Regions from separate parts of the Homo sapiens genome. Here region 2 is linked to region 1. Evidence: promoter capture Hi-C in human tissues and cell types (Jung and others, 2019). All regions are on one chromosome and are shown on one strand. The core of a region is centred on a gene start or on the middle of the fragment in contact, and the rest is flanking DNA. Distances in the headings are between cores, read along the strand shown. Region 1 holds the start of MRPS35 (mitochondrial ribosomal protein S35). Region 2 has its middle 23 kb from the start of C12orf71.

Region 1 (4,181 bases), core at 602-3,101:
AGAGGAAATTTCTGTTGTTTTAAGTCACCCAGTTTACGGTACTTTGTTCCAATCCCCTAGGAAACTCATACATCATGCTTCTATTTTGGAACAATAACAGGATGGTAAAAGTCCAGAAAAGATGAAGATGATGAATATTACAAATACTTGTCCATCTCATGCTATTTGTCCCCCTCCCATACCTTACTGATTGATGTCCATGGCGCACTGAATGTTCACAGCTAGAATATTCTTGGACACCTGCATACCTCTGCTCTACTGGTTGTATGCTTACCAAGAATCGGTTTTGTTTATTTTTAGTTGTTTTTACTGTTATAATTTTGTCACTTTGAGACAAAATAGGGAAATAGGCCAGACCCATGCCTGTAATCCCGACATTTTGGGAGGCCAAGGCAGGAGGATCACATGAAGCCAAGAGTTTGGGACCAGCCTGGACAACATAGCAAGACCCCCAACTCTACAAAAAACTTAAAAATAGAAAAAATAGGCCAGGTGCAGTAGCTCACGCCTGTAGTCCTATCACTTTTTTGGGAGGCCAAGGCAGGAGGATCGCTTGAACCCAAGAGTTTGAGACCAGCCCTGGCAACACTGTGAGACCTCATCTCTGGAAAAACAATTTTTTTTTTAATTAGCTGGGTGTGGTGGTGCGTGCCTGTAGCCTCAGCTACTTGAAAGGCTGAGGTAGGAGGATCACTTGAGCCTGGGAGGTCAAGGCTGCAGTGGGCCATGGTCCTGCTACCACATTCCAGCCTAGCAACAGAGCAAGACTCTGTCTCAAAAATAATAATAATTAATTAATTAATTAAAATAATTTTTAAAATAAAGAGAAAATAGAGAATTTATTTTATTTTATTTTATTTTTGAGGCGGAGTTTTGCTTTTATTGCCCAGGCTGGAGTGCAATGGCGCGATCTCGGCTCATCGCAACCTCTGCCTCCCGGGTTCATGCGATTCTTCTCTCGAGTAGCTGGGATTACAGGCATGTGCCACCACACCCGGCTAATTTTGTATTTTTAGTAGAGACCAGGTTTCTCCATGTTGGTCAGGCTGGTCCCAAACTCCTGACCTCAGGTGATCCACCCGCCTCGGGATCCCAAAGTGCTGGGATTACAGGCGCGAGCCACCGCGTCCGGCCGAGAATTGTTTTATTAAGGCTTGTATGTTAATTCATCCTACCGTAGAAAATTTAAGAGTGTTCATTAAAAGTTTATTTTCTAGGTCCTGATGAGTTCTGACTTTCTGTAATTCTAAGCTGATCTAACAACAAGCTAACCATATATAGCTAAAAGTTATAGGCTACGTACACGCGGTGTTCACTGTATGCCAACGCTGTACACAAATATTTGTCTATGCTAACTTGTCTGAGATCATACATCCCAGAAGTGGTGAAGTCAAGTTTGAAACCCAAGCACTCTGGCTCGGGATACTGCTTCTCTCCCCTTAGCGCATATTACTGGCATTAGTTGAAGACTTCTTTAATCCAAGTAAATGTAGAAAAGCAACAATTATAAATAACAAGAGTCCCTCGGGTAGACCGCCTGACTCTCGGATCAACTGAGGTTCCACCCAGAGCACGCCCGCCTTCAGTGAGCCGCAACCCCTATCCCTACGGTCTTTATCTGCAATTCTCTACGAACTGATTCACTCGATTTTTAAGGATTTTTTTTGTTTTCTTTTCATTACTTCTTTCAGTTTGGGGGAATCTTCCTGCACATTTGACTCGGCTCTGAGTGCGCAGACCAACGTGTTTCCTCTTTCTCCAGCCTAGGGCGGTGCCAGCCCAGGGAGCCTGCGCTTAGCGGCCCCAGGCCCGCCCCTGACACTGAACGCCGCTTGTCCCCTCCGGCTTGCCGTCCTCGCAGCCATGGCGGCCGCCGCGCTCCCAGCATGGCTGTCTCTGCAGTCGAGGGCAAGGACTCTGCGTGCATTCTCCACTGCCGTCTACTCGGCCACTCCGGTCCCGACACCTAGCCTGCGTGAGTGTCTGTCTCGTCTTCTCTGGGCTTTGGGGGAGGTGCAAGAGCGGAATACCGGCCTCATGAAGGGTGCCGCGGTGGCTGAGCCAGCGCCGCCCGGGGGAGGCCAGTGCGTCCGCTGCCAGGCCCGTCTGGTAGGAAAACCATGGACGTGGGTCTGTGCTCTGCACCCGCGTTGCCCGGCTTCTAGCCGCCTGTTTCTGCCCTGGGTGCTCTGGGAGTTTGCTCAGAAAGCTTACATCCCCCTTCCCCGTGACCTGCTCCTGTGTTGCCCCCGTCCACAGCCCCTGGCACAGGTTACTGGTGCTGTGTTGTTTATCGGGCATCGGCGCTGTTGAACCATGGATTTCCCCAAACATTAAGAGAGTCATACGGCTGTGCTAGGACAAATTGCTGCTCTGAATTCCAGGCCACCAAATGGGCGGCCTTCATTCAACAGGCGTTGATGACCTCCATTTAACAGAGATTGTAGGGATGCTTGATAGCGTGCTTACCCCGGAGGACTCTAGTGGAAAATACAGATTTATTAGCGGAGAAGTGCTATGTAGGGTGAGAGGCGCTGTGATAGAAGTGTGGCTAGAATGACGGGAGCGTTGAGGAGGAGCTGGCGTGAGTCTAATCAATAGGCGGATCCTACCTGTGCTACTTCCTGTTATATCTCTAATTTACTCTCCTCATACTACCAACTATCTAGTTCAGGTGACCATCTCATTTCTACAAGTTTTTTTTCCGTTTCCTGTTTCCCCTCTTGCTCTCCTACATTGAATTCTCAAAACAGCCAAATGAGGTTTTCAAAATTTAGATCTTGTCTTGCTGCTCTCATGTTCAAGATCTACAAATGGTTTCCCATTGTTTTCAGATAAACTATAAATACATTAATCCTTCATACTGGCTCTTCATAGGTCTAATAATTGTCTATTTTTAAATTTTCATTCTTAAATTCTTGGAATACTTAACTCCTATTGTATACCATGCAGTGTTCTAGACACTCACCGGAGATACGGCAAGGTGGGGAAGTCAATAGTATAAACAACCAAACAACTAAATAAGATGTCAGATAGGGTTTAATGCTTTGAAGAAAAATAAAGTAGAGTATTGAGAATGATGGATTTGGGGGGAGTAGTGGCCACAGGATGGTCAGGAAAGATCTTTCTGAGGAAGTGACATTTGAACAGGGCCCCAAGCCATGCAGAGATATGGGGAAAGAGCCTTTGGGGTATGGGGAACTATAAGTGCAAAGGCCAAAAGTTGAGAACAATCTGAGGGGTGTGATCAAGGAACGGGAAGAAGGACAATGTGGCAGGAGCTAAGTGTGAGTAGAGGAGAGAGTGGTAGTATAAGACGTCAGAGAGTTAGTTAAGTAATAATCTGATCTCTCAAGAGTTTGTAGACATTTCATTTGGATTTTTGGCTTGGGTTTTATATTGAAAGGCTTGGAACAGGGAACTGATATAATGTGATTTACGTTTTTAAAAGATCACTGGCTGCTTTACTGGGGTAAGAGTGGAAGCCAAAGATCTGTTTGGAGGCTGTTGCAGTAATCCAAATGAGGTGATGGTGACTTGGATTAAAGTAATAGTGGAGAAGGAGGTGTGGTTGTATTTGCGATATATTTTGAAGGTAAAGTTCATAGGATTTACTGATGGATTTGATGTGGGGCTTGAGGACAAGTCTCAAAAAAATCCTGTTACATTTTTGTTCTGAGCAATTGGATGAATGATGATTCCATGTACACGAATTGGGAAGACTGGAAGAAGAAAATCAAAAGCCCTGCCAAGGGGCTGAGTGTGGGGGCTCATTCCTGTAATCCCAGCACTGTGGGAGGTCGAGGCCTGCGGATCCCTTGAGCCCAGGAGTTTGAGACCAGCCTGGGCAACATGGCGGAACCTCGTCTCTATTGAAAATACAAGAAATTAGCCAGACGTGGTGGCCCATGCCTGTAGTTCCAGCTACTCCAGAGGCTGAAGTGGGAGAATCACCTGAGCCTGGGAAGTCGATTACAGTGAGCCGTAATCGCACCACTGCCCTCCGGCCTGGGTGACGGGAGTGAGACCCTATCTCAAAAGAAAAAAAGTTCTGCTAAGGATGCATTATAGTTAAGACGCCTGTTAAGTGCCTTCAGCCTCTTTTCTCTCTGTCTCTCTCTGTTCTGTTCTTAAATTTCAGCCATATTGAATTTGTTCACTTTGATTTTCCATGTGCTCTC
Region 2 (3,910 bases), core at 363-2,862, 650 kb before region 1:
AAGTATTGATGGAATGGCAGGAGGAAGCTTTGTGGAATGCTGGAAATGTCTGTATCTTTAGTTGATGCTTATGTAAAAATTCATTAAACTGTATATGTAAGATTTATGCACCTTACTCTGCATATAAGTTATCTCAAGAATAAATAAATGGGTTGGTTGAGAGTTATATCCATATATCAGTAGACAGAATGATGGTGAATAAAATAAGCTTGATATTTGATTTTATAGGTATCAATAAGAATTCTTGGGTGGAACATGTATATGGAATATAGAATTTAAGTGAAACTTTGGTTAAAAATATGTAATATGCTGGGTGTGGTGGCTCACACCTGTAATCCCAGCACTTTTGGAGGCCAAGACAGGCAGATTGTTTGAGCTCAGAAGTTTGAAACCAGCCTGGGCAACATGACAAAACCCTGTCTCTACTAAAAATACAATGGTATTTGTATTTTTATATTAGGGAAGCATCTTTTAAAAAGTAATTAATTAATTAATTAATTAATTAATTAAAAAGGTCTTGCTGCATTGCCCAGGCTGGTCCTGAACTCCTGGTCTCAAGTGATCCTCCCAGCTACTCAGGAGGCTGATGTGGGAGGACTGCTTGAGCCCAGGAGGTTGAGGCTGCAGTGAGCCATGATCGCGGTACTCCAGCCTGGGCAACAGAGTGAGACTTGTCTCAAAAAAAAAAAAAGGTAATATAATGTGAATAATAATAGTAGTATAGTAGTCAAAGTGCCTATTTGCAGAAAAAACAACTAGAAAACAAAAGTGAAGGAGATTTGGGCTATTTGCATTTCCTAAATAAATTATGTCATACAGAATATCATCATCATAAAAGTCAATAGGTTTTCTGGGGAGAAAGTACCATGTTTGTATATTTCAGTGTCTAGTCAGAACAATATAAATAACTCTAGGTATTTCCCAAAATATGGTGTACAAAATACTGTAGTCATACAACATGTTAATATGTTTTCTTGGGGGAAAATACCATGTTTGTATATTTAAGTGATCTATCAGAACAACAGAAACCACTCTAGGTATTTCTAACACTGAGCCATTAACACAGCGGGTAGTTTGCAAAAGTGTTAGTGGAGCTGAAGAGACAAAAAGGTGAATGGATGCTACCCAGATATCAGTAAGTACTGGAAGCTGCCAACTCCCAAGGCTGGAGGAGCAAAAGGGAAAGGAACATTGCTCAGATCCCATGAGTGCTGTGCTGCTGAGACTTCTAACACCACACTGCCACTGCTGTTTTGCAGGAAGCTAGGAATTCCAGTGATCGCACAGGATTCTGGGAGCCACAGTCCCATTTTTGCTGAACTCCTGGCCTCAAGAGATCCTCCTGCCTCGGCCTCCCAAAGTGCCAGGATTACGGGTATGAGCCAGTGTGCCCAGCCTACATCTACCTCTTTACTTCTGGATTTCTCAAAACCTTTCATATGCTACTGTGTTCAAAAGAGAGTTATAGTTGATGGCACTTCTCATTTTATATGATTGAAGACGTATTATTTTCCCCCACAGAACACATTTGTAACATCTGATAAGACCTCAGACTAGAATAAAAACAGAAACAAACAAAAATGCTATTGTTGTTGGAGTATAATAAGGACATAGAACAGCAGATTATATAAAAAAATGCTTCCTTATCTGAGTGGCTCACACCTGTAATTGGAGCACTTTGGGAGGCCGAGGTGAGAGGATCACTTGAACCCTGTTCAGGACCAGTCTGGGCAATGCAGCAAGACCTTGTCTACAAAAACTTTTCAAATTAATTAATTATTTTTAAAAAGATGCTCTCCTAACATAAATTATAAACATTTCAGAGGGGCAAGTAAAAGTGGCATGTAAGAATCCAAATATACCAACATTCTGAAAACTAATTATCTTAAAGGGATACTATTGACAAATTCTTACATTTTTTTCTTTCTTTCTTTTTTTTTGGAGACAGATTCTTACTCTTTTCCCAGGCTGGAGTGCAGTGGCATGATCGCAGCTCACTGCAGCCTCCACCTCCTGGGTTCCAGAGACCCTCCTGCCTCAGCCTCTCGAGTAGCTGGGACTACAGGCGCCTGCCACCACACCCGGCTAATTTTTGTATTTTTAATAGAGACGGGGTTTCGCCATGTTGGCCAGGCTGGTCTCAAACTCCTGACCTCAGGTGATCTGCCAGTCTTGGGCTCCCAAAGTGCTGGGATTACAGGCGTGAGCCACCTTGTGCAGCTAAAATTCTTGCATTTTTTGAGTCTTGTGTTAATGGTCATTTATTATTTTGGTAGCTCATTATATGACCACCTTCCTCTTTGGGAGAGTCACAAGGGGAAATATAAGGAATGCCAGTCTCTGTTTACTACATGGAAGCTGCAGGGGAATGATAGTCTTTCTCCTTTTTTTTTTTTAGACAGAGTCTTGCTCTGTCTTCTAGAGTGCAGTGGCACGACTTTGGCTCACTGCAACCTCCGCCTCCTGGCTTCAAGCCATTCTCCTGCCTCAGCCTCCTGAGTAGCTGGGATTATAGGCAACTGACACCACACCTGGCAAATTTTTGTATTTTTAGTAGAGATGGGGTTTCACCATGTTGGTCGGGCAGGTCTTGAACTCCTGATCTTATGCAGTCCACCTGCGTTGGCCTCCCAAAGTGCTGGGATTACAGGCACGAGCCACCCTGCCTGGCCCAGCCTTTCTCCTTAATTCTGGTAGCTAGAGCATGGACTGTAACATGAGTACAGTTACTTTATCTACAGAGACATTGTAAGTTCAGAGGCCTGAGAGTTAGCATCCAGAGGCAGCAGACACCAGCAGCACAGCTGTTTCTCCCGCAGGATCATTGCCAGCAGAACATCCTACACCAATGGCTCTTTGGGCAGGATCTTGGCTGTGCTTTGTCTGTCTAGCTTCATGCCTAAGTTTGGTAAGTTTTCTTGCTTATTGTGCAACCTTTAACCCTTCCCCAAATTATTTTTCTCCTTAACGGAGCCAGATTTATTTTCTGTTGTTTGCAACCAATAACTCTAACTAAAACATTCTTAGAAAGTAGAGAAAACCAAAATGGCAAATAATATTCAAAAATTTTTTTCTAACCAACAAGAAAGAAAAGATTGGTTATATGGGAGAAAGTTACTATGAAATAATAGCATTCTAACAGAATGTATAGGTTTAAAAAAGCAGATTTATAAAGATTCAGAAAAACACTATATGATATGGTTTGGCTGTGTCCCACCCAAATCTCATCTTGAATTGTAGCTTGCATAATTCCCACATGTTGTGGGAAGGGCCTGGTGGGAGATAATTGAATCATGGGGGCAGCTTCCCCCACACTGTTCTTGTGGTAGTGAATAAGTCTCATGAGATCTGATGGCTTTATAAGGGGTTTCCCCTTTCTCTTGGCTCTCTCATTCTTTCTTGCCTGCTGCCATGTAAGACGTGCCTTTGCTTCTCATTTGCCTTCCACCATGATCATGAGGCCTCCTCAACCATGTGGAACTGTGAGTCCATTAAACCTCTTTCCTTTATAAATTACCCAGCCTTGGGTATGCCTTTATTAGCAGCGTGAGAACAGATGAATACAGCGTATGTAACAGAAAAAAGGGAAAAATTATAAAATGATATCTGACTGTATAAATGTGAATAGTCCCAAAGAAAAGGAAGTAGGGGAGATATGTAAAGAGACTGGGATGGCTGCAATAAGGTGCTCTGTAAACTGCCCTGATATACAATGAGTAGAAGAATGAAAAGAGAATGTGTCCCAATTTAAATGTGTCTGTAAGGAGAAGGTAGGTATTATGGTCTCCATCTTGATCTCATCTTCAGGGATGATGTACTCATTCCCAAGCTGCTGGAAGTGCTGGCTCATAGGTTCATCCTTCATTTGAAACTGCCCTTGGCTGCAGGGGACCACCTTGATCCAAGATTA

The links. Contacts are between HindIII fragments. The study calls those that stand out against the background at their distance.
Region 2: a contact is called between a fragment that was not itself captured here and the fragment with the promoter of MRPS35 in region 1, in 1 of the 25 tissues and cell types used here (lymphoblastoid cells).

What each region holds. Positions count from the first base shown.
Region 1 is chr12:27,708,981-27,713,161 of GRCh38, forward strand. MRPS35 (mitochondrial ribosomal protein S35) reads left to right here and starts at 1,852. Exons shown (of 8, transcript NM_021821.4): 1 at 1,852-1,975. The coding sequence starts at 1,864. It overlaps MRPS35-DT (MRPS35 divergent transcript), which reads right to left and starts at 1,767. Exons shown (of 5, transcript XR_001749448.2): 1 at 1,683-1,767. RefSeq lists enhancers at 1,283-1,362, 1,393-1,472, 1,483-2,272. The HindIII fragment of the contact is 7,635 bases long and covers 1-4,181 here.
Region 2 is chr12:27,058,086-27,061,995 of GRCh38, forward strand. No RefSeq gene overlaps it. Among named protein-coding and RNA genes, the nearest start is that of C12orf71, 23 kb to the right of the region's middle. The HindIII fragment of the contact is 4,112 bases long and covers 1-3,668 here.